7 separate regions of the Homo sapiens genome follow, and regions 2, 3, 4, 5, 6 and 7 are each linked to region 1. The links are contacts of gene promoters, found by promoter capture Hi-C in blood cells and fetal thymus (Javierre and others, 2016). All regions are on one chromosome and are shown on one strand. The core of a region is centred on a gene start or on the middle of the fragment in contact, and the rest is flanking DNA. Distances in the headings are between cores, read along the strand shown. Region 1 holds the start of RIMOC1 (RAB7A interacting MON1-CCZ1 complex subunit 1). Region 2 has its middle 73 kb from the start of SELENOP. Region 3 holds the start of LOC124900970 (a long non-coding RNA gene). Region 4 overlaps CCDC152 (coiled-coil domain containing 152). Region 5 overlaps CCDC152 (coiled-coil domain containing 152). Region 6 overlaps GHR (growth hormone receptor). Region 7 overlaps GHR (growth hormone receptor).

Region 1 (3,407 bases), core at 320-2,819:
GACCACTAACATTGTCATTTTATTTTAGTAAATTTTCAGAAGTATAAAGCCTTCAAACAAGAATTCCATATATAGCACATGACTTTTATTTCCAGCTCTGATTCATTCCAGATTAAAGAACTCTTCCAAGGGAAATGAGAATGGCTTTTTAGTTCAGTGATAAGTGAATAAAAAACATTCTTTGGTCTCTTTGGACTGGTTCAAGTGAATCTGGAATTAGAGGTAACATAGATAACTTTCAAGTTAATAGCTCCTACTACCCAAGAATTATTCATGTGAATCCACAGACCAAAATATAAGTCGGCTTCAGGGTGGTCTGTAGGTCTTTAAAGAACACACTCCTGGCCTGGCACAGTGGCTCACGCCTGTAATCCCAGCACTTTGGGAAGCCAAAGCGGGTGGAATGCTTGAGCCCAGGAGTTCAGGACCAACCTGGATGACATGGTGAACCCCGTTTCTACAAAATATGCCAAAGTTAGCCGGGCGAGATGGTGTGCGCCTGTTGTCCCACTACTAGAGGGGCTCCAGCCTGAGCAACAGAATGATACTCTGCCTCTAAAAACAAAACAAAACAAAACACTCCTGATAAATGATAATCTGGCAAAAAATATTCACTGAAACTAAGGCATTTCATCATAGACCCTATTTAATAACAAATTCACCAACTATTCAATCGCTTAAGAAAATGTTCCACCACTGTTTTCCTATGAGTCCGATGATATGAGTCAGTCCACAGAATTTTAAAAACTATCTGTAGTAATTGCTCAAACTCAAAAAGGAATAATGTAGAACCTAAAGGCAGCTGAGACGTAATGAAAAGAATTGGACTTAAATTCAGAAGGTTGAGGCAATTCCCTAGCCCAGTTTTTCCTAACAGCTTAGACCTTTCCAAAACAAGTATGCCAATACTTAACAGAGCCCTTGTGAGAACTGGCATGATGTATGGGGCAGAATAGTCTACACACCAATGTAAAGCTCTTCTATAGAATGTTGTTTTGAATCCAAAACGTAAAACGCAAATTACAACGCAGCAATGAAAAAGTGGAACTGTTATACATGTCTTTTTATCTTTACAGGATGCAAACCACCATAACTAATTTGAGTGTTATCATTCATCTTAGCCATTTATTTAAACTTCTGTATTTTATTTAGATTCTGCCCTTCTTCCAATCGCTACCGAGACAGTTTACACCAGCACGGATCTAGACAGATTTTCCATGGGTTCTGAATAATGCGGTTTTCGAAGACAACGCCTTGGCATTGTGAGTTCTGGGAAGTGGGCAATCGATGGCGCAGAGGGGCTCAGAAGCGACAGACCTCGGGTAACCACCTGCGGCCTGGGACCCAAAGGAACACAGGCCTCAGCCTCTAGCCCTCACAGCCATCGAGCGCCAGTACCTTAGCGCCGTCTGCCCCGCCCGCCTCCCTCTCCTCCGCTCCCTCACCATCTTCACCGGCAGCTTCGCTAAGTTGCTGTATGTGGGCCTGAGCCAGATCCCCGAGCTCTTCCACTCGTCTCACCACACTAGAGACTGCGGCCGCCATGGCCACAATCGGCGGGTGCGCCCCGGTCACGTGACCGTGTTGGCCCGCAATCACCTGATCCCCCGGCACGGGCGGGGCCTAGGGCGGACCTCTCCTGGTTGGTGGGAGGAGACATCAGCTCCGGAAGAGGGCTGGCCCAGGCCGGCAAAGGTCTTTCCGGGTCATTTTTCCCTCCTGGACTTCCCTTCCCTCCCATAATCCTGAGCAGCAAGGAGACTAGGGGCGGGTGTGACGTTGAGACACGCCTCTCTCTAGCCCCCTCCTGTAAGCCAATAGGGAGCCAGCCGTGCCCCTCGGCTGACCCAATCGGAAGTCAGCTCTCTCCGCCTGCCTCTTGGAAGACAGCTTGGTGACGTCTGGCTGGCAGGATGCGGATTGTCGTCCGCACTCCCACTTCCCTGTCCGGCGCGGGAAGCACAGTCTGGAGGGCGGACGCGAGGGTCTGGAGAGAGGACTGTCAGTTTTGGCCTTGTAGTAAGGAGGTTGCTAAAATAAAGTGATTATAATCTCCTGGTCCTAAATGGAAACCCGACCGGCCCCCTGTGTAACACATCCAAGTCTCCAAGAGTTTGTTGTACATCTGGATGGGGAGCTCCAAACACTAGTGGAGTTGCCAGTCTACATGGTTGAATATTGCTTTTGTAAATCTGATTTTTAGCAGTCGAATTTATCTCTGACCTCCCTTGGAGTTCACATTTAAAGTACTTTAGACATCTTGCGTCCAGTGGTAGTAAATTCTGCGGCCACAAAACTATTTTCATTTTTCTTTCATCTCAAGACCTTCCCTTAAGGCGCTAATTGTGCATGAGGTTCATCCTCTCAATCGGGAGTTTCAAAGCACTCAGTCAGCAAGTCTAACTTCACTTTGCATTCTGTGAATGCTTTCTTGCCTCTGGTCAAACAAATCGTTAACTCTGTGTATTCATTTCTCAGTTTGACACACTATATCTTGAATAATCTCCATCCTATTGTTTCTCATGGAAGGTAGTTTTTTATATGTAATAGAAAAATACTAAAAATAGAGAAAAAGTGTATTGTGATTTATAAGTGATTGACCACAATGACTCTCTAACTGACCTTTGTAATACCAGTTTCTTCTGACAATTCACCCTAAATATAGAGGACAGGAATCATGTATTTTGTGTCCTTGGTGCCTCATACAGTGCCTGGCACATATGCACTCTTGTCAACAAGCAAGATGGCAAGGGGATATGATGTGGTCTGTGGGAGTAGACAATTATTCAATAGTGTGGGAATTGTAGGTGAGGAAAAAAAGAATCTAAGTATAAACAAGAAGTTGAGAGAAGGCTTTCTCAACAAGGGATGGAGAAGGTGGTAGTTGAAGAGGGGCAAGTGCTGGAAGGTAGGGTGGAGAATGATCGTATCTGTACACAAAGGGGGAAAAATAGGGAAATAGGGATAAATTCAAAATGAAAGTAGGGAGCCAGCAATGGATAGAGAAAAGAGCAGAAGGTTACACCTGATGCCTTCTGAATCTTCTACAAGATGTAGAACTAAATGAAGCCTTCAGAAGATTTTACTAAACTTTTCAAAAAATAATTTTCAAAAAATAATTAACCTTTGATTAGGAATTTTCAGTCTCCTAGAAAATGTGTAATTTACCATTCTTAAACTACTTAAAAGAATTACCTGGACATGTGGGCAACAGACAAAGGCACAGCTGAAATATTTTGACTGTGGATCTACAAATTATCTCTGCAGAAGTGTTTTACTCTCAGGTCCACTGTTCTTCTCAGGCTTTTATAAAAGACATCTTAGGATCTATGTAATCAGGTCATCCATTTTCTAGCCATGAGATTTGGGTCTGGGAGATCTTGCTCATGATTTCGAAGTGATCTTGG
Region 2 (3,407 bases), core at 556-3,055, 980 kb before region 1:
TACATATGTAATATACTGTTAGGAAAAGTACGAAGAAATGTAACATGTTAATAGGCTGGAGAGTAAGGAGATGGAGAGGGTGGTTATTTAAGATGAAGCAGTCAGGGAGGTCTCTCTGGGAAGGTGACAAGAGAGTGGACATTGGAAAGATGGGAGAGTGTGAGCCATATGAATGTCTAGGGAGAAGGGCATTCTGGACAGAGTGACAATCCAGCACAGAATGAGCTTGATCTGCTGTAGGAAAAGGAAGAAGGTCAATTTGGTCAAACTGGCAGAAGTGAGCCAGAAAATAAAAAGAGGTGAAACTGGAGAAATAGGCAAAAGCCAGTTATTTTAGACCTTATAGGACATGGTAAGGAGTTTGGGTTTCATTCAAAGTATTATGGGAAGCCTATTATGGTGGCTCACTCTTGTAAACACAAAACTTTGGGAGGTCAAGGCAGGAGTATTGCTTGGACCTAGGAGTTGGAGGACAGCCTCGGCAATGTAGTGAGACTCCCATGTCTACGAAAAATAAAAAATTAGCCTGGCTTGACGTTGCACACTTGTAGTCCCAGCTACTCAGGTTGCTGAGGCAGGAGGACTGCTTGAGCCAGGAGGTCGAGGCTGCAGTAAGCTGTGATTATGCTACTGTACTCCATCCTGTGTGACAGAGCAAGACCCTATCTCAAAAAACAAAACAAAAACAACAACCAAAATCCAAAGTGTTATGTAGGACTTTGAGGCAGGGGTGAGGCATTATCTGATTTATGTTTTAGGCAGATCATTCTAGTTGCTATCTGGAGACCTGACCACTTAAGAGTATAAAAGGAATCAGGGAGTCCAGGTGCAAGCCTACCGCAGGGATTTAGGTGAACAAAGATGGTTTCTTTGGTATAGATAGCAGCAGTGAAAGTGGTAAACAGTGGTGAAGTTTGAAATAAATTTTGAAGGTGGAATAAATGGAAGTTTCTGATGAGTTGGAGGTGTGGTGTAAAGAAAAGAGTAAAAATATCTCCTATGCCTTGAGTCTGAAAAACTAGGTGAATATTGGGGCCATTTATTGAAACAAGGAAGTGTGGAGAGGCTGACTAGGGTTCACCAAGCATAGATGTCAAGTAGGCAGCTGGAGATTTAAGCCAATGTAAAGATGTAGGTTTGAGATTCAATATCTAAATGTATTTAAAGCCATGGAACTGAGTGAGACCACTCAAGGAGAGGGGAGTAGATAGACAAGAGTGTTGAAGACTGAGGTAAAATGTTGGAAGAAGTAAAGGAGTCATCAATAGAGGCAGAATGGAGATGTCCAGTGAGATCTGAAGAATTTTCAAGGGGAAGGAGGTGATAACCTGCTACAATGATGGTTACAGGTAAATTAAGATGGAGATCACTGGTGTCTGGAGAAGGCCAAGTTCAGGGGAGTGAGAGGGGTGAACACTCAATCAGTGTGTGCTGAAACCACAATGAGAGCCAAGGAAGTGAAGACAGTAAGAACAGACAACTCTATTTAGAGGTTTTTCTCTAAAGGGTTGCTGAGGAACAAAGCAGTAGTTGGAGGTGAATTAAGGGAGTCTAAGGAGGGATCTTTACTTGCTTATGAGAGATATTACAGAAATATTATATGGTTCCCTTCAGAGAGCTGAGTTTTAAGGGCAAAGATACAGAACTTGGAGGGCAGAGTTTGCTCTCTGCTCCCTGCAGAAACACTCCAAGAGACTTTTGCCTGAGAACTTAGCTTGCATAGAAGGAATGGAGTCCAGCAGCTGGGGTCAGCATAGCCAACATTATTGGGCATTTTGGGATGATCTTCAGATCTGCATTTTGTCCTGAAGTTTCACAGTGAAGTTCTAATTGGGTAGCCCAATCATGTAGCCTTTGTAACCCCACATGTGCTATTTTCCCCTGGTAACTGGTGAAAGTGAATGTAAATAGTGGATTAGTGTGGTTTGAGGTCTATGGAGTGTAATAGGCCAGTGTGGTTGTGTTCTAGGTGAGAGTGCAAGATCAAAGGGCAAATCCATGTGCCCCCTTCTCAAGATGGGGATAACAAGGGAGAACGTATTGATGCTAGTCTGTCTTTTTTTGTCTGCTGTTACCTTTTCTTCCTTGTTTTTGAGAAGTTCTCAGGCTCTCTTCAACACCATCCCACCAGGAAAGTAAGTTAACATGAACTGACCTATCCTGATGTAAACAAAAAGAGTGAAACTCTGAAATATTTGAGATTTATTTTGATTCAAACATGAGTGATCAGTGGCCTGCGACACAGCCCTCAGGAGATACTGAGGACATGTGCCCAAGGTGGTCAAAGCACAGCCTAGTTGTATACATTTTGGGAAACATGAGACATCAATTAACCACATTTAAGATGTAAATTAGTTTGGTCCAGAAAGGCAGGACAATTTGAAGCAGGGGACCGTGAGGGGGAGAGGGGTTTCAGGTTATAGGTAGATTTAAAATTTTTCTGATTGGCAATTGATTGAAATAGTTATTATCAATAAAAAGAAATGTCTGGGTTATGATAAAGTGTTGTGGAGACCAAAGTTTTATCTTGCAGATGAAGCCTCCAGGTAGCAGGCTTCAGAGATAACAGATTATAAACGTTTCTCATCACACTTAAGATCTGTGTTGATATTAAACGCTGGCTGGGTTTTCCTGAATTCTAAAAGGGAAGAGGGTATAATGAGCCATGTCTGACCCCACTTCCCACCATGGCCTAAATCAGCTTTTCAGGTTAACTTTGGAGTGCCCTGGCCTAGAGGAGGGGCCCATTCAGATGGTTGGCGGTGGGGTGCGGTGGGGGCTTAGAGTTTTAATTTTGGTGTACAGGTTTTATACTTCTTCTCTTCTTTTCCCATTTTAAAAGAGGTGGCTGAAATTTACCTCATGAATAAAAACTGGGAAATTGTGACATCAAATATTATAAATGTAGGGAGAGGTGGAGTAGAAGTGTAGAGTTTTTTTAATGCTATCAAAGTCAAGTTATCAGCTTATCACCATTATAAGATTTTTTTGTAAGCCTCATGGTGCTCATGGTAACCACAAAGCAAAAACCTATAGTAAGTAAAAAAGGATTTTTTTAAAAAAGAAATCAAAACATATAAGCATAACACTGGAGGAAATTTCTTAATCACAAAGAAAGACCAACAAGAGAAGAAAAAAACAAAGGTTCTACAAAACAATCAGAAAACTATTTAAAAAATGGCAATAGCAAATCCTTATCTATCAATAATTATCTTGAGTTTAAAAGAATTAAATTCTTCCATCAAAAGTCATAGAGTGGCTGAATGAATAAAAAAAAACACCCAATCATAACCTGCCTACAAGAGACTCACTTCATCTGTAAGAATACAACACATAGAATGAAAGTGATATAAATGGAAACCAAGAGAAAGCAGGAATAGCTATACTTAGAACAGGTAAAATAAATT
Region 3 (3,407 bases), core at 342-2,841, 930 kb before region 1:
TCTCGCTGACTTTAAGAATGAAGCCACGGACCCTCTCGGTGAGTGTTACAGTTCTTAAAGATGGTGTGTCCAGAGTTTGTTCCTTCTGATGTTTGGATGTGTGTTTGGAGTTTCTTTCTTCTGGTGGGTTCTTGATCTCACTGGCTTCAAGAGTGAAGCTGCACACCTTAGCGGTGTGTTACAGCTCTTAAAGTGGCACATCTGGAGTTGTTCATTCCTCCCATCTGAAGTTTGTTCATCCCAGCCAGAGTTGTTCATTCCTCCTGGTGGGTTCATGGTCTCACTGGCCTCAGGAGTGAAGCTGCAGACCTTCGTGGTGAGTTTTACAGCTCATAAAGGCAGTGTGGACCCAAAGAGTGGGCAGCAGCAAGATTTATTGCAAACAGCAAAAGAACAAAGCTACCACAGTGTGGAAGGGGACCCCAGTGGGTTGCCGCTGTTGGCTTGGGCAGCCTGCTTTTATTCCCTTATCTGACCCCACCCACATCCTGCTGATTGGTCCATTTTACAGAGAGCTGACTGGTCCGTTTTACAGAGAGCTGATTGGTCCCTTTTGACAGGGTGCTGATTGGTGCGTTTACAAACCTTGAGCTAGACACAGAGTGCTGATTGGCGCATTTACAATCCTTTAGCTAGACACAAAAGTTCTCCAAGTCCCCACTAGATTAGCTAGACACAGAGCACTGATTAGTGTGTTTACAAATCTTTAGCTAGACACATAGTGCTGATTGGTTCATTTACAATCCTCTAGCTAGCCATAAAAGTTCTCCCAGTCTCCACCCCACTCAGGAGCCCAGCTGGCTTTGCCTAGGAGATCCTGTGCCAGGGCCGCAGGCAGAGCTGCCTGCCAGTACTGCGCTGTGCACCCGCACTCCTCATCTCTTGGGTGGTCGATGGGACTGGGTGCCGTGGAGCAGGGGGCAGCGCCCAAGGGGGAGGCTCGGGCCGCATGGGAGCCCACAGGGCTGGGGGGGTGCTTGGGCATGGTGGGCTGCAGGTCCCGAGCCCTGCCCCAATGAGAGGTGGCTGAGGCCTGGCAAGAATTCGAGCATGGCGCCAGCAGGCCGGCACTGCTGGGGAACCCGGCGCACCCTCTGCAGCTGCTGACCCAGGTGCTAAGCCCCTCACTGCCCAGGGTGGCTGGCACCGGCCGGCCACTAGGAGTGCGGGGCCTGCTGAGCCCGCGCCCACCAGGAACTCGTGCTGGCCCGTGAGTGCCGCAGGCAGCCCTGGTTCCCGCCTGCGCCATCTCCCTCCACACCTCCCCACAAGCAGAGGGAGCCAGCTGTGGCCTCTGCCAGCCCAGAGAAGGGCTCCCATAGTGCAGTGGCAGACTGAAGGACTCCTCAAGCATGGCCAGAGTGGATGCCGAGGCTGAGGAGGTGCTGAGAGCGAGTGAGGGCTACTAGCATGTTGTCACCTCTCAAAGTGATTACACAAGGATATGGATATCAGGAGGAAGGAATCATTGGGTGTATTCTTAGAACCAGGCTTCCACAGTCCCACTTTCAATCTGCTTTTTTTTCTTGCTGCACTTAGTATTATTTTTTTTTCCCAGGAAGTCAGCTATAATCCCCTGGAACATGGTTCCTGGGGCCTCAACTCTGGGCTGGATATAAACCCAAAAGTTGATTGTGTAACTATTACTTTAATTTTAAAAGGTCTCAGAAAGATTCAAACCCTTGCTCCTGCTGCTCTTTTATTTTCATTCCGTTGATTGGGCTTCCTTTTTTTTTTTTAGAAAAACTTGTATTTTAGGTTCAGAGTACACATACAGGTTTGTTATATAGGTAAACTTGTGTCACAGAGGTTTGTTGTACAAATTATTTCATCACTCAGGTACTAAGCCTAGTACCCAATAGTTATTTTTTTTCTGATCCTCTTCCTCCCCCCACCCTCTGGTAGGCTCCAATGTCTGCTGTTCTTTTCTATATGTTTATGTGTTCTCTTCCACTTACAAGTGACAATATACAGTATTTTGTTTTCTTTTCCTGCATTAGTTTGCCAAGGATAATGGCCTCCAGCTCCATCCATGTTCCCGCAAAAGACAATCTTGTTCTTTTTTATGGCTACATAGTATTCCATGGTGTATATGTACTACATTCTCTTTATCCAATCTGTCATTGATGGGCATTTAGGTTGGTTTCATGTCTTTGCTATTGTGAATAGTGCTGCAATGAACATTCATGTGCATGTGTCTTTATGATAGAATGATTTATATTTCTGTGGGTATATACCTAGTAATAAAATGTCTGGGTCCAGTGACAGTTCTGTTTTTAGTTCTTTGAGGAATCACTATACGTCTTTCCACAGTAGTTGAATTAATTTATGCACCCACTGACAGTGTATAAGGGTTCCCTTCTCTTTGCAACCTTGCTGGCATCTGTTATTTTTTGACATTTTAATAATAGATATTCTGACTGGTGTGAAATGGTAACTCATTGTGGTTTTGATTTGTATTTCTCTAACGATCAATTGTAGGGAGACCCCCTGAAACTATTGCTATGGAGTAAAAGATGAAATGCTCCTGATTATTGTACGTACAAAATTGCATGCAGGATTGTGTAAAGACAATGCCAGGTTGGGCTGCCAGAATGAGCCAACAGCGCGTAATGTGCTTCCCCGTGCAGAGAGCCTATAAACGGACGTGCAGTCAGGGAGGTTTCACATAACCAGGATTCCTATCCCAGAAAAGCAGATGTTCATAGCTCTGGGAATGGAATGTGATTCTTGTGGAGAGCCTATAAGCAGATGCATGAGGGGCGCCTGTTCATATGGATAAGATAGGGCTATAAACGTCCTTATTTTGCCACAGCTCTTCTAGGCCTCTTTAAGGTTAAGGCATACTCCCTTCTGAGAATTTCTGGTCTAACTGGTTGTCTAGCTTCACATCCTGTTTCTATTGATTGTTTGCAACCAGCTTTTGCTGCAACTGTTACTGCTGATTAATATCTTGCTAATCATAGGTTATGGAGAGACTGTGTTTCTGTTTTAAGGCTCTGTTAGAAATTGTTGATGCACACACTATATTGTAAATTCTTATCTCTGTATACTGTACTTCTGCATACCAATGTTACGTTAAAGACTTACTTCATCCCCATGTGACCATCTCACCTCATAATCAAACGACCCTAAAACCCTCACTAACCTACCCCTGCCCTCACTAAACTTAATAATAAATGCTGGTATATCCAGTGCATTGGCGGCATCACAGGACCAGAAGGCGGTGACCCCCCTGGACCCAGCTTTCACTATCTTGTGTGTGTCTTTTATTTCTTGACCTGTTGATCTGCCTGGGAACAAAGAAAGAGCCCCGTTGCATTGCAGGCTGCTGGCCAGATCCTGCAATAATCAATGATATTGAGCTTTTTTTGTATGCGTTTTGGCTGCATGTATGTCTTCTTTTG
Region 4 (3,407 bases), core at 458-2,957, 900 kb before region 1:
TTGGTTTGCCTTTTTCCTTCCTAACTTTCCCATATGTAGAAGAAGCCATTAAGATTGCTTACTGTGAAAAGAAATGTGGAAACTGCTCTCTCACGGTATTTTTCTGAATTATTTTTCTGGGGAGAAAAGAGGAAATCTTTTAAGAGTTTATCATGAAACACTTATTTAGAAAACTCAATGCTTTTGCAGGTGTACTAAAAATAAATAACAATAATTTTTACAATTAAACAAACATCCTGTCATCTAACCTCTACTTTATTTATTTATTTATTACTATTACTATTATTTTTGAGACGGAGTCTGTCTCTGTCGCCGAGGCTGGAGTGCAGTGGCGCGATCTCGGCTCACTGCAAGCTCCGCCTCCCGGGTTCACGCCATTCTCCTGCCTCAGTCTCCCGAGTAGCTAGGACTACAGGCGTCCGCCACTACTCCCAGCTAATTTTTTGTATTTTTAGTAGAGACGGGGTTTCACTGTGTTAGCCAGGATGGTCTCGATCTCCAGCCCTTGTGATACGCCCGCCTCGGCCTCCCAAAGTGCTGGGATTACAGGCGTGAGCCACCGCGCCCGGCCTAACCTCTAGTTTAAAACATCTTTTGAAGATCGATGTTGCTGCCTTTATCTAGAAGAGCTTTAGAAATTAAAAATCAATGTATCGTATTTCAGTTACCACCAAATGACGTTGCATGGGCATAAGTGCTCAAAAAATTTAGTCAACACAAAAAAGCAATGTTATTGTAGTAACCTGAACATGTTAGCACAAGAACATAAAAATAGCAAAGCTTACCCACAGCATTACTTGGAATGGAACTGGGGCCAGAAACTACTTAATTTATTGAAGATGCAAGGCTATCAGATTTTTCCTGAAGCCCTTCCACTGCCTGCCCATCTGCAGTCTGAGTTTACTTCAAAATGGAGTAAGTTTTCTACTCATTACTGGTATTTATTTCCTAACAACCATGAAAATATTTCTTCTTTGTTATGAGAAGAACTATATTTAAATCTTTTTTAAATAAAAAAGGCACTCAAAGAATTTAATTTGTATTAACTAGACTTGTTTTCCTTCATAACAAAAAGGAAAATAATTCTAAACAATGTTCCATTGAGAAGTCAGATTGGGAAAATTTGAACTTAGGTTTAAAAACAATTCACAATTTTATCTGTAAGTTGTATTTCCTTCAGATTTTCCCCAGGTCTAAAGAAAGCCGCCTCAAATTTTTAACGAATTTAATTAATTAATTTAGTTGTTAAGGAGTATAAGTTACTTACTCTAGTTATGTAATTTTCACATTTTAATCTTTATAATGATCTTTTGAGGGTTATTTTACTATTTTTAAAGATGAGGAGACTGAGGTAATGGAAGAAAATACTAAGAGTAATGAAAGAAAAGTACTAACTCAACCTATACTAAGCATTTAATAAATACTAATTATAATGATTCCTCATATTTTGGGATTATTTCTGCATTTCTCATTTGTGCAAATGCTTGCTAGTTATAAATATACCCAGTTATATTGAAAAAGGCAGTTAATAGTTACCACAATATGCTTAAAATGTGTGAATCATCTGTAAATACAAATTACAGATCAGACACTATTAGTATCTGATATGCCAAATCCGATTGGAGTTTTTCTATTTCATTGTCTCCTAGATACCACTGATTATTTGACATATTATCTTATGTAGTATTTAGGAAAAAAAAATGCTGCTAATTAAAGTAGGATACAGTGAGAAACCACCACCAACAGTATGGTACATTCTAATTTTAGAGATATTAAAATCTAAAGAAATATGCATCACATAATCAGTAAAATATAGTAATTCGTTTCTGAAATTAGACTACTGGCAGGGTGCGGTGGCCCACGCCTGTAATCCCAGCACTTTGGGAGGCCGAGGTGGATGAATCACGAGGTCAATAGATCGAGACCATCCTGGCCAACATGGTGAAACCCCATCTCTACTAAAAATACAAAAATTAGCTGGGCGTGGTGGCACGTGTCTGCAATCCCAGCTGCTTGGGAGGCTGGGGCAGGAGAATCACTTGAACCTAGGAGGCGGAAGTTGCAGTGAGTCGAGGTCGTGCCACTGCACTCCAGCCTGGCGAAAGAGTGAGACTCCGTCACTAAATAAATAAATAAATGAAAGAAATTAGACTACTACCATAGGTATTTGTGTTTGTTTAAACCTTGAACACTTTGAACATTACACAGTATATTTTAAACATGTATCAAATTCTTTATAAGTTTGTAAGCAAACATTATTAGCTTCTAATGTAGAAGTAATTCAGAAATAACCAAATAAAGTACCACTTAGTAGTTGTATGCTAAAATTTAATGGAATTTATAACCTTTTAAAACCTTCAAAACATCAAAAGCATATCACTTAGTGAGTCTTTGGGTTCTAAGTTGATTTTGTAATTTTATTTGCAAATTAGCCTTAGGTTGAGATTTACTGTTACATTTCTGTATCTATAGGCTTTGAGTCTCTGATTAGTAGGTACCACAAAACAGTAAAGACTTCCAGTAAATTAAAGAACTAGGATCATGCGGAATGGATATTATGGTCAATGGGAGTCGGGCAGTAATTTGCTATTTTCAGCTGACAGCCTTATGGTAGGGAGACATTAGCAAAGCTTTGGTGAAGTTCAAAACATTTCCTGGCATAGGATGAAGTATGAAAAACTAACACATTTGAGCAGAGTTTATTAGCATTTTTGAATTATCAGAGATAATATTAGATTACAGTATCATATAGTATTAGATAAGATGCACCGTTGACACAGGTACAGAAGTTTCCATATAGTTCAACTGATTTTTTATTTATTTTTTATTTTTTTGAGATAGGGTCTGACTCTGTCACCCAGGCTGGAGTGCAGTGGCACCATCTGAGCTCACTGCAACCTCCATCTTGCAGGCTCAAACGATCCTCCCACCTCAGCCTCACAAGTAGCTGGGACTACAGGCATCTGACACCACACCCAGCTAATTTTTGTATATTTTGCAGAGACAGGATCTCGCCATGTTGCCCAGGCTGGTCTCCGACTCCTGAGCCCAAGTAATCTGCCCCCCTCGGCCACCCAAAGTGGTGGGATTACAGGCATGAGCCACCATGCTCGGCCCAGATCAACTGAATTTAGGATTTGATATTACTTTGACTTTCCTGCAATCCAAGTTCCTTTTGCCAGTTTACTTCATTTGCTTCTGCAAATATAAGTACAGTGGTTTGGCTTTCTTTTTAAGCCTTTAATAAAATGTCTAGGTGTTGAGACTAACATCAGACTCTTTCTCATTAATATAATACAAAGCCAGCTCGATTCTAATTAACTAGTTGGAATTTCACATGTTAGCTCTACAAATCATTTTTCACGCATTATTCCTATCTCTATAAGCTTGTTAAAAAGTGATTTATA
Region 5 (3,407 bases), core at 377-2,876, 880 kb before region 1:
ATGGGCAACTACAGAGCAGCTTTTATAAACTACTCCTGACAACTGTGTGCACTAAGCTGTTGCTGCTCTGAGAAACCACAAGAGACAAACCTATGTACCTTTCTATTCTCCACTGATTTTTGCCACAGGAAGATGTCACCAGGAAAGTGGAATGCTGCCAGTTAATTCGGTGAGACCCAGGATTTGCATTTCAGCCTCCAGGCATGAAGACTATTCTATCTGGGTTGAGCCAAGTTCTATCCCACTAGATCTTCTCTTCCACTTTAGCCTGTGCCATTCCTAAAAAATGTAATCTTTTCATTTTTCTAAGGAGACTAATCCCCAATAGGTTACAATTGGTTGTCTTCTTTTCATATGCTTTCTGGGAATTTTAAATTCCAAGGAATAGCCTCCAGTTTCACTCTTGATATAAAAAACAATGATTCTCTCTATACAAGTTGCAAAATCCTTCTACTCTCACAAATACTGCTATTGGGTACCTCCTGAGTTTGTTCCTGGGGAGTTTTCTCCATGAATTTTAGATGTGTTCAGAGGTTTTGAATTAGCAAATCTGCGTTGTCATAGTTTGCTTTGGGCAGCCCCTAAGTAAGAAATTCAGACTCTTGGGTTGTGGTGTTTTCTCTTTAATTTCTTCCCCTCTGAACATTCCTGTAGTATTCTCAACAAAGCAGTATCCTAGTGCTTGAAGTTTTAGAAAGGAAAGCAGGTCAAATTTTCTCCCCCTGGTTCCCCACCCCAATTACAACCTGACTTTACCATCTATTTTTGAGATCTAGAGTCAATATATTAAAAGGATTGGGAAAGAATAAAGGGAAAAAGGAAAAGAAAGGGGGAGAAAGGGTAGGATTCATTTCAGAAATACTTAAAAACCATCTCAAAATTGGTGATGAAAAGCTAAATTTTCTAAGAGCATAGCCAGAATGCTACTTATTACTGTACAGGATTAACCAGAAGTTCTGGGCAGATTTCTTCAGAGGGTCCTCAGATGAGGAACCAGACTGAATTTAGAGAAGATTCTTCAAGTTGAAAGCTCCTATAGATTCAACTTGAGTTTTGAGGATCTTTTGTCTGCTAGAATTTGACATATTAGCTCTTGAGAGATGAGGAAGTTAGCATAATGAACCTCTCAAAGAGCAGAGGGAACTGACATTTATTTAGCATCTTTTATGCTTTTTACACGCTGTTCATGTGTTCTACAACTGCTGTCACTACACTGTTCCTACAGGAGATAAGGAAAAGTAGCAGAGGGTATGGTGGCTCCTGGGAGAGAAATAATTTGTGATCCACATGAAATGCCCCCTGTATTGGAATGGTGTAATGATTACCCAAATCATAAAGAGTATAGATTCATTTACATTATAATAAGAAAGTTCACAAGTAGTAACAAATAGAGTTTACTAGAGTAAAACCTCTATTAACATAATTGAAAATTATGTAGCAAAATAACTGCATCTCTTTTTGGTAGAAAGAAAAAGTAATGCAAGTTATTTGTTAGTACATTATATTTTGTAAAAAAAAAAAACTCTTAAAACTAGTATTGCTTTGAAAACAAATTGTCATTTACTAAAGATTTTGGCATATATACGTATATCTCCACACACACACACACCCACAAACATTTGGCTGTGTTTATTAATTTAAAAACCTCTTTTTTTTTCCTAATTTGAAAAGATAAATCTCCACAGGGACTTGACTGAATAGAATGATACATAAACTCACCTGTTCATGAGACTTTAACTTCTCTTTTATAAGATCAGCACTTATTTTTAGTTGTTCATTTTCACCTGTGTAAGAATAATCAAAGAACATCATAATATATAGCACTTTTCAATTAATATGAAAATATGTTCAACATTTTAGCTTCCATTATGTATGCATTCAACAAACATGCATCCAGCAGCTGCTACACTTCAGGCACCATGCTAGACACTGAGAATATGAAAGTGAAAAGAGTTACTGCTCTTCAAAGAACTTACAGCCTAGTGCTGAGTCAAATGTGTTAGTAGTTATAATATGCTATGATAATTGCTCTTTAATGGCAGTATATCTGAAATACTACAGGAACCTGTAAAAAGAAAACCTAGGGCAGCTTGAAGTCAGGAAAGGATTTAGAGAAGAGAAGCTACTTGAGACGAGATTTAAGTGATAGGCTTACCCCATGTTAAGAGAGAGCATTCTAAATGCAGAAAATCGCACAGAAGACCATGGGCTTGAGTGAATATAGCTTGGAAAAACTACAATTCACGTACGGTATTGTTGAAGTGTAAAGTGTGAGCAGGAGATGCTATATAGGTTGGGATCCTATCACTAGGTAGACATATTCTACATATTCTAGATGAACAATTTTGGATTTTGGTTTTAGAGGTTACAGGGAGTCATCAAAGAATTTTGAATAGTGCAGAAGTGAAATAATGAGAGTTACATGCTAAAACGATTATCTGGCAATGTGGATGATGAATGAGAGGGTTTTGACCCTAGAGGAATGGAGATCAGTAACTATAGGTCAAGTAAGAGATAACAGGAACCTAAATTACGTCAGCGGCAGTATGGAAAAAAGGAAGCAATGAGGAGAATTATTATTTAGATGATAGAATTACCTAGGAATTTAGTGACCCTTTAGATAGAGGAGGCAAAAGAGAAAGGGGGAGCCTTTTCTTTTTAGGTTTTTGGTTTGGGTAACTGAAAACAATACCTTAATATTTTTAACAAATTTTAAAAACCCTGTGGTTAATTTTGATTACTAAACATCCAGGTCGGTTTAAAACTGTAATTTCCTATTTGATTGAAAGTTTTCATGATCCTTATCACTGGCTAGATCAGTGGCTGTAAAGAGTCAATAGAAGTGGGAAAGAAGTCTTAGTTTCCTCCTTAGTTGCTCTTCCCTGTCTTTCCTCTGGGTCATCTCTTGGGGGGTGGAGACAGGAAATGAGGAGAGGTAAAAAATTCTCTATTTAACTTCGAGGTTCCAGTCCTTTAGGTGGTTGTAGCAAATATATGCAGTCTGGACTCACTCCAACATTTGGCGACTTTTTAGCAGATGTCACTAGAATATGGAAATATGTAGCTATTTTGTTGTTAATTGTGGCATGTGCCCTAGTCACTAATTCCTGGTAAACAGGAAAAGCCTCAATAGACATCCTATTACAATTTCCCCTCTACAACCTTAACTATAAACACAACCAAGAAGTAGTTAAACAAAACAACAAATCAGTAAAGATTTTTGACATTATCTGAATAATGCTTTTAGGAAGGTTTGTTTTGTGGTATAGTAAAGTTGAGAGGAGCCTTGGAAATAGAGTCCACTTATGAAACTATTGCAGAGGTATTAAACCACAGTATTAAAATTAAAACCTTGACTATAAACAAAACTAAGAATTAGCTAAACAAAACAATGACAAATCAGTAAA
Region 6 (3,407 bases), core at 555-3,054, 750 kb before region 1:
TTGGTTATTCTAGTTATACATTCTTCTAAATTTTTTTCAGAGTTTTCAACTTCTTTGCCTTTGGTTTCAATTTCCTCCTGTAGCTCGGAGTAATTTGATCGTCTGAAGTCTTCTCTCAGCTCGTCAAAGTCATTCTCCGTCCAGCTTTGTTCCGTTGCTGGTGAGGAACTGCGTTCCTTTGGAGGAGGAGAGGTGCTCTGCTTTTCAGAGTTTCCAGTTTTTCTGCTCTGTTTTTTCCCCATCTTTGTGGTTTTATCTACTTTTGGTCTTTGATGATGGTGATGTACAGATGGGTTTTTGGTGTGGATGTCCTTTCTGTTTGTTAGTTTTCCTTCTAACAGACAGGACCCTCAGCTGCAGGTCTGTTGGAGTTTGCTAGAGGTCCACTCCAGACCCTGTTTTCCTGGGTACCAGCAGCGGTGGCTGCAGAACAGCGGATTTTCATGAACCTTGAATGCTGCTGCCTGATCGTTCCTCTGGAAGTTTTGTCTCAGAGGAGTACCTGGCCGTGTGAGGTGTCAGTCTGCCCCTACTGAGGGGTGTCTCCCAGTTAGGCTGCTCAGGGGTCAGGGGTCAGGGACCCACTTGAGGAGGCAGTCTGCCTGTTCTCAGATCTCCAGCTGCATGCTGGGAGAACCACTGCTCTCTTCAAAGCTGTCAGACAGGGACATTTAAGTCTGCAGAGGTTACTGCTGTCTTTTTGTTTGTCTGTACCCTGCCCCCAGAGGTGGAGTCTACAGAGGCAGGCAGGCCTCCTTGAGCTGTTGTGGGCTCCACCCAGTTCGAGATTCCCGCCTGCTTTGTTTACCTAAGCAAACCTGGGCAATGCCTGGCGCCCCTCCCCCAGCCTTGCTGCCACCTTGCAGTTTGATCTCAGACTGCTGTGCTAGCAATCAGCGAGACTCCGTGGGCGTAGGACCCTCCGAGCCAGGTGCGGGATATAATCTCCTGGTGCGCCGTTTTTTAAGCCCGTCAGAAAAGCGCAGTATTAGGGTGGGAGTGACCCGATTTTCCAGGTGCCATCTGTCACCCCTTTCTTTGACTCGGAAAGGGAACTCCCTGTCCCCTTGCGCTTCCTGAGTGAGGCAATGCCTCACCCTGCTTCGGCTCCTGCAAAGTGTGCTGCACCCACTGTCCCGGGCCCACTGTCTGGCACTCCCTAGTGAGATGAATGCAGTAGCTCAGATGGAAATGCAGAAATCACCCGTCTTCTGTGTCGCTCACGCTGGGAGCTGTAGACCGGAGCTGTTCCTATTTGGCCATCGAAGAGAACTTTTTTAAACCTCTTTTTCCTTACAAATTACCCAGTCTCAGGTATGTCCTTTTGGCCGTGTGAGGATGGAGTAATACACATGGCATAGTGCTAACATCCATTTTGATGAATCCTTTCCCTTTGGTCTACCTTCCTGAGAAGCTCAGAGTTTTCATCGAGTTCATAGATACTCAAGGGCCCCTCAGTGGGAAACTTGACCTAATCTTCTTGTGCAGAGTTTCTAATATTTGAAAACTTTCCTACCTTATTTCCTTTAAAACACACCCATCCTGCTTTCTAATCTCAGAGCCTTGGTAGGTAGGGGTAGTATGCAGCAGCAGAAAGAACACAGTCTTTGAAGCTAGCTGGATTTCAGTTTGAATCCCAGCTGTGCAACTTGCTAGTAATGTTACATAAGTTCTCTAAGCTCCAGTTTTCCCCTGTGTAAAATGAGAGCAAAATACCTGCTTATACAGTTGCTGAAAAATAAATCAGATTATTATAGAGTACTTGGCACTTGGTTAGTCTTCAATAAACAACCACCACCATTATTACACTACTCTAGTGGGTTAATAGATCCCCAAGCCTTCATTTGTTGACCTCCAAGAAAATGTCTGAAACTTAGAAAGCCTTATATATTGCAATGCCTTAGCCTAAAAATATGCCTCAAAATTAGAATCTAAAGCACAGATTAGACAACTCTCTTCATAACCTACCAAAATGGAAGCTACTTTTAATCCACATCCACTCTTAAATATAAAACAAATTTAGGTCAGAAGTAATGGACTCCCTAGGCTTTATGGTAGGGTTTCTCAACTTCCACACTATTGGTATTTTGGATCAGATCATTTGTTGCTGTGGAATGCTGTCCTGTGCATTAGAGAATGCTTATCATCATTCCTACTCTCTACCTACTAGATGCCAGTAGCACCCCCTCTTTTCCAGTGTGACAAGTAAAATGTCTCTAGACATTGCCAAATGTCCCCTGGGGGGAAAAAAATCACCCTTGATGAGAACCACTATGGTATGAGAATTATAATTCACTTTATAAAGCTCAATTGCAGATGCTCTGATTACATTTGCATTGGATAATTCTTACTGTATATAAGCAAAAATAACAATGGATAAAAGTTCTTTTTAACCATGATTGATTGAGCTCCTACTTTGTGCTAAGTTTTTGCCATTTGCTTTCTCATTCCATCTTCACAACTCTTCTGTGGAGTATGCTGTATATATTATTATAACCCTCATTTTACAGAGAAGGAAACTTAACTTCAGGAAAGTTAGATAATTTTTAGCCAAAACACAAAGGTAATAAGTAGCAAAGCTGGGATGTGAATCCAGATTTTTCCCACTTCAAAGTTTTCTTCCCATAGGTAGCACTGCCCACTGCCTCTTTCAGTTTTATTTGGATTTTCTTTTTATGGTAAGGTTGCTTTTTTTTGGCATTAGGTTCAGAAACTTATCGGTTTCTATGAGCTGTTAGATAGCTAGTAATAATTAAGAGTCCTGTACTTGATTTGAGATAGTTTTGTACTTCCTCTTTTACCCTAATTTATATGAACAAACAGAAAAGCATCTTTATTATCAGAAATATCTGAATTCCCTAAGCAATAATGCCACATCCCCTCATAAAAAATGAGAAACTAAAGACAAGTCCTGATTCTGAAAAGTTTTCAGCCTGGTTGGGAAAATAAGACTTATACCTATGAAATAAGCTGAAAATAAAACATTTTAGGACCACCTACTCAGAAGAATACCCAGCTACTATTAGGTGGGAGGATCACTTGAGCTCAGGAGTTTGAGGCCAGCCTGGCCAACAAGCAAGACTCCACTATAAAAGCAAGAAAAAGGAACATTTTAGGATATACTGGAGTAGCTATATAAAACTTCATAAGGAAAGGGAAACACCAGTATGTTACTGTAGACTTATAGTACTTCATAGAGAAGTTACAGTAGGAAATAGAGTGACAAAAAAGGGATAGAGATTAGGAAGTTGATTATAACAGGTATTATACTTCTAAATTCCCATTATGAGTGAAGAGAAGAGGTCAGGTGCATATTGGCAAGTATCTACTTATCCACTAGTGGACAATATCCCATTGGACAACTCTCAAGAATAAAAGGAATAAAATCATGGTCCACATTTTCCTCT
Region 7 (3,407 bases), core at 397-2,896, 730 kb before region 1:
TAGTCTTGTGCTGTATAATGATGTTTTGGTCAACGACAGACTGCATATATGATAGTCGTCCCATACGATTACAATACTATATGTTTACTGTACATTTTCTATGTTTAGATACATAAATACTTACCATTGTGTTACAATTGCTGAGAATATTCAGTACAGTAACATGCTGTATAGATTTGTAGCCTAGGAACAATAGACTATATCATAAAGGCTGGTGTGCAGCAGACTGTACCATCCAGGTTTGTGTGAGTACACTTCATGTTTACACAATGATGAAATTACCTAATTATGCATTTCTTAGAACCTATCCCCACTGTTAAGTGATGCATGACTGTAATTTATTTCAGAAGAGTTTACTATGAAGCAAATTTATAAAGTGAACACTGTATTGTCATTAATGCCAATTATGAAATTGAAGATAACAGGAGACTAAAAGAGGGTAACCAGTACAAACTTGATGATTAGTTCCTTAAAATACTATATTATACTGAGGGGGCAGTATAGTATTTGGGATGCTGAGGGGGGCAGATCACGAGGTCAGGAGTTCGAGACCAGCCTGACCAACACGGTGAAATCCCGTCTCTACTAAAAATAAAAAAAATTTGCCGGGCGTGGTGGTGCACGACTGTAATCCCAGCTACTCAGGAGGCTGAGGCAGGCAAATTGCTTGAACCTGGGAGGCGGAGAGTGCAGTGAGCCGAAATCGCACCACTGCACTCCAGCCCAGGCGACAAAGCGAGACTCCGTCTCAAACAAACAAACAAACAAACAACCATATTATAGCTGCTGGTGGGAATGTAAATTAGTTCAGCCACTGTGGAAAACAGTGTGGAGATTTCTCAAGGAAATTAAAACAGAACTACCATTCAACCTAGCAATCCCATAACTGGGTAGATACCCAAAGAAAAATAAATCATTCTACAAAAAGGACACACGCACTCATATATTCATCACAGGACTATTCATAACAGCAAAAACATAAAATCAACCTAGATGCGCATTGATGGTGGACTGGATAAAGAAAATGTGGTACACGTATACCATGAAAAGCTATGCAGCCATAAAAAAGAACAAAATCATGTCCTTTGCAGCAACATGGATGTATGTGGAAGTCATCATCATAAGTGAATTAACGCAGGAACAGAAAACGAAATACCATATGTTCTTACTTATAAGCAGGAGCTAAACACTGGATAAACATGGGTATAAAGATGGCAACAGTAGACACAGGGGACTACTAGAGTGGTGAAGATTGGGAGCGGGGTGTGAGTTGAAAAACATCAAGTAATATGCTCAATACCTGGGTAAGGGGATTATTTGTACACCAAACCTCAGAGACATGCAATTGACCCATGTAACAAACCTGCACGTGTACCCCCTAAATCTAAAATAAGAGTTGAAAAAAAAGAATTAATTGCTTTGCTGTTTAGAATGGTTTGGCATACTTTTTTTTAGAGGGCCAGAGAGTAAATATTTTAGGTTTGTGGACCTATGCTCTGTGTCTTAGCTACTCCACTCTGCCACTGTAGCCCTAAAGTAAACACAATCTGAAACAAACAGGCATGGGTGTGGTCCAATAAAACTTTATTTACAAAAACAAGCATCTGGTCTGAGGGCCTGTTTGCCAACCCTTGGTTTAAATATTTGTTGACCTAAAGAAAAAAAACACAGAGGTAGCTTACCTTGTACCAGATATTGTGAATTATATGCAAATAAATTTCCTATAAATCATACTATATTTTCAAAAGTCCTTTGAAAGTTGTGTAACATTTTTTCCTAAGTAATAAGTTCTTTGTTTAGCAAATGATCACCTCTTGTTATTTTTGGCTTAAATATATATTACCTTATATTGCATGTATTTGCCATGAGACACACAATTACTTGAACTACTATTTAATGGTAACTACATTTGAACGCTTTGTCAAAGCCATAAATCTTTTTGTAAATGTCTGCTTTCTCAGTGTGTAGGTTAAGTTGTATTAAAGTCTGGTTACACCTAAATAATAAATTCAAGATATTTTCCCAGTGCATAAATGTACATTATTTAAAAAAACTGTTCCCCACTAGGAGGAGCCAGTGTGAACAAAGGGCTTTTCTGGACTTCAGGTATCCTTTCCTGGTGAGAGACTCATGTGTGCAGAAGCTAGGGCTCTCTCGGGAGCAGTGATTAGAGTTGGTTTTGAAGCTGTGGAATTAAGCAGCAAATCAGTGGGCTACAAGCTAGAAGAACTCAAAGGTCACAACCAAAAAGGTCACAACCAACTGTTGGATGCTTTAACTTTCAAGAGTTACTAAAAAGTGTTCACCACCCATTGGGGTCACCCAGGGTGAAAGAATGTTTGTCTTGAATTATCCCTTTAAAAAATGTGTGTTATGCTTTGGCAAAGAAACCATGCTAGAAGTCAGTATATAGAGTGTACATAGGCATACTGAAAATTTAAGTAAGATGCTTAATCATCCTTCTTAGGCTCTAATTTTTTTTTTTTTTTTTTTTTTTTGAAACGGGGTCTCGCTCTGTCGCCCAGGCTGGAGTCCAGTGGTGAGATCTCGGCTCACTGCAAGCTCCGCCTCCCGGGTTCACGCCATTCTCCTGCCTCAGCCTCCCAAGTAGCTGGGACTACAGGCGCCCGCCACCACGCCCGGCTAATTTTTTGTATTTTTAGTAGAGACGGGATTTCACTGTGTTAGCCATGATGGTCTCCATCTCCTGACCTCGTGATCCGCCCACCTCGGCCTCCCAAAGTGCTGGGATTACAGGCATGAGCCACCGCGTCTGGCCTAAAATTTTTTTTACTCACTTCTAAGATTAAGGCTTTTAGAGACCTATGCCCACAAACAGATTTCTAACTATTTTCTTATTGTTTGAGTTCCAAAAGAAATAGAAGACCTCAGTATATGTTTACAACCAGAAGGGACCTGCATTCCAAAGGTTTCATTAATAGTGCCTAAGTCAATGCACAGAGAGAAACAGGTCTCTTGTAAACTAAGTGGTAAATATCTACTTACCACTTATCATTGCTCAGAAAATTGCTTGAAGTTGAAGGGGGATAAAAAAGTTAAGACCAAATATTTCTTTCAAAAAATTCTTACCTCTCAACGATTTTGTGTGAAAACAAAGCAGTATATAATAAAGCACTAACGTGTGAAACTAATGGCAGTCATTATCTGAGTATTTCAGGCTGGAAAAAAGTCACTGCAAAGTCCATATAAGTAAAGACTGTTGTTTTAATTATTAATATAGTTGTATGCTTTAATTAATATTTTACTTACCTAGGGACAGATACAACTCATTGCATTGGCAATATCTTCTTCACTCTCTTGGGCTGTTAAGAGACTTAAGCTGTTTTCTCTGTACCTCCATTTCTTCTTACATAAAGTGCATAATTTAACCTGCCTTTCTCTTATTT

The links. Contacts are between HindIII fragments. The CHiCAGO score rates a contact against its expected background, and 5 or more counts as called.
Region 2: a fragment that was not itself captured here is called in contact with the fragment with the promoter of RIMOC1 in region 1 in 4 of 17 cell types (neutrophils, M1 macrophages, M0 macrophages and 1 more); the score reaches 8.0 in neutrophils.
Region 3: a contact is called between a fragment that was not itself captured here and the fragment with the promoter of RIMOC1 in region 1, in 1 of 17 cell types (M1 macrophages). The highest score is 5.8, in M1 macrophages.
Region 4: a fragment that was not itself captured here is called in contact with the fragment with the promoter of RIMOC1 in region 1 in 1 of 17 cell types (M0 macrophages); the score reaches 5.3 in M0 macrophages.
Region 5: a fragment that was not itself captured here is called in contact with the fragment with the promoter of RIMOC1 in region 1 in 3 of 17 cell types (M1 macrophages, M0 macrophages and monocytes); the score reaches 8.0 in M1 macrophages.
Region 6: a contact is called between a fragment that was not itself captured here and the fragment with the promoter of RIMOC1 in region 1, in 1 of 17 cell types (naive B cells). The highest score is 5.8, in naive B cells.
Region 7: a contact is called between a fragment that was not itself captured here and the fragment with the promoter of RIMOC1 in region 1, in 1 of 17 cell types (naive B cells). The highest score is 6.8, in naive B cells.

What each region holds. Positions count from the first base shown.
Region 1 is chr5:41,902,506-41,905,912 of GRCh38, reverse strand. It overlaps RIMOC1 (RAB7A interacting MON1-CCZ1 complex subunit 1), which reads right to left and starts at 1,569. Exons shown (of 6, transcript NM_175921.6): 1 at 1,446-1,569. The coding sequence starts at 1,545. RefSeq lists enhancers at 1,467-1,586, 1,339-1,885, 1,997-2,136. The HindIII fragment of the contact is 10,560 bases long and covers 1-3,407 here.
Region 2 is chr5:42,883,049-42,886,455 of GRCh38, reverse strand. No RefSeq gene overlaps it. Among named protein-coding and RNA genes, the nearest start is that of SELENOP, 73 kb to the right of the region's middle. The HindIII fragment of the contact is 4,310 bases long and covers 1-3,407 here.
Region 3 is chr5:42,834,214-42,837,620 of GRCh38, reverse strand. LOC124900970 (a long non-coding RNA gene) reads right to left here and starts at 46. Exons shown (of 2, transcript XR_007058751.1): 1 at 1-46. The HindIII fragment of the contact is 5,346 bases long and covers 1-3,407 here.
Region 4 is chr5:42,801,344-42,804,750 of GRCh38, reverse strand. CCDC152 (coiled-coil domain containing 152) reads right to left here. Exons shown (of 9, transcript NM_001134848.2): 9 at 2,312-3,407. SELENOP (selenoprotein P) reads left to right here. Exons shown (of 5, transcript NM_005410.4): 4 at 1-95. Among named protein-coding and RNA genes, the nearest start is that of SELENOP, 8.8 kb to the left of the region's middle. RefSeq lists enhancers at 18-518, 519-1,019. The HindIII fragment of the contact is 1,850 bases long and covers 783-2,632 here.
Region 5 is chr5:42,777,835-42,781,241 of GRCh38, reverse strand. It overlaps CCDC152 (coiled-coil domain containing 152), which reads right to left. Exons shown (of 9, transcript NM_001134848.2): 5 at 1,720-1,784. Among named protein-coding and RNA genes, the nearest start is that of CCDC152, 23 kb to the right of the region's middle. The HindIII fragment of the contact is 5,271 bases long and covers 1-3,407 here.
Region 6 is chr5:42,657,489-42,660,895 of GRCh38, reverse strand. All of the region lies in intron 3 of GHR (growth hormone receptor), which reads right to left. Among named protein-coding and RNA genes, the nearest start is that of CCDC152, 98 kb to the left of the region's middle. The HindIII fragment of the contact is 4,825 bases long and covers 1-3,407 here.
Region 7 is chr5:42,635,301-42,638,707 of GRCh38, reverse strand. The region is part of intron 3 of GHR (growth hormone receptor); the gene reads right to left. Among named protein-coding and RNA genes, the nearest start is that of CCDC152, 120 kb to the left of the region's middle. The HindIII fragment of the contact is 5,633 bases long and covers 1-3,407 here.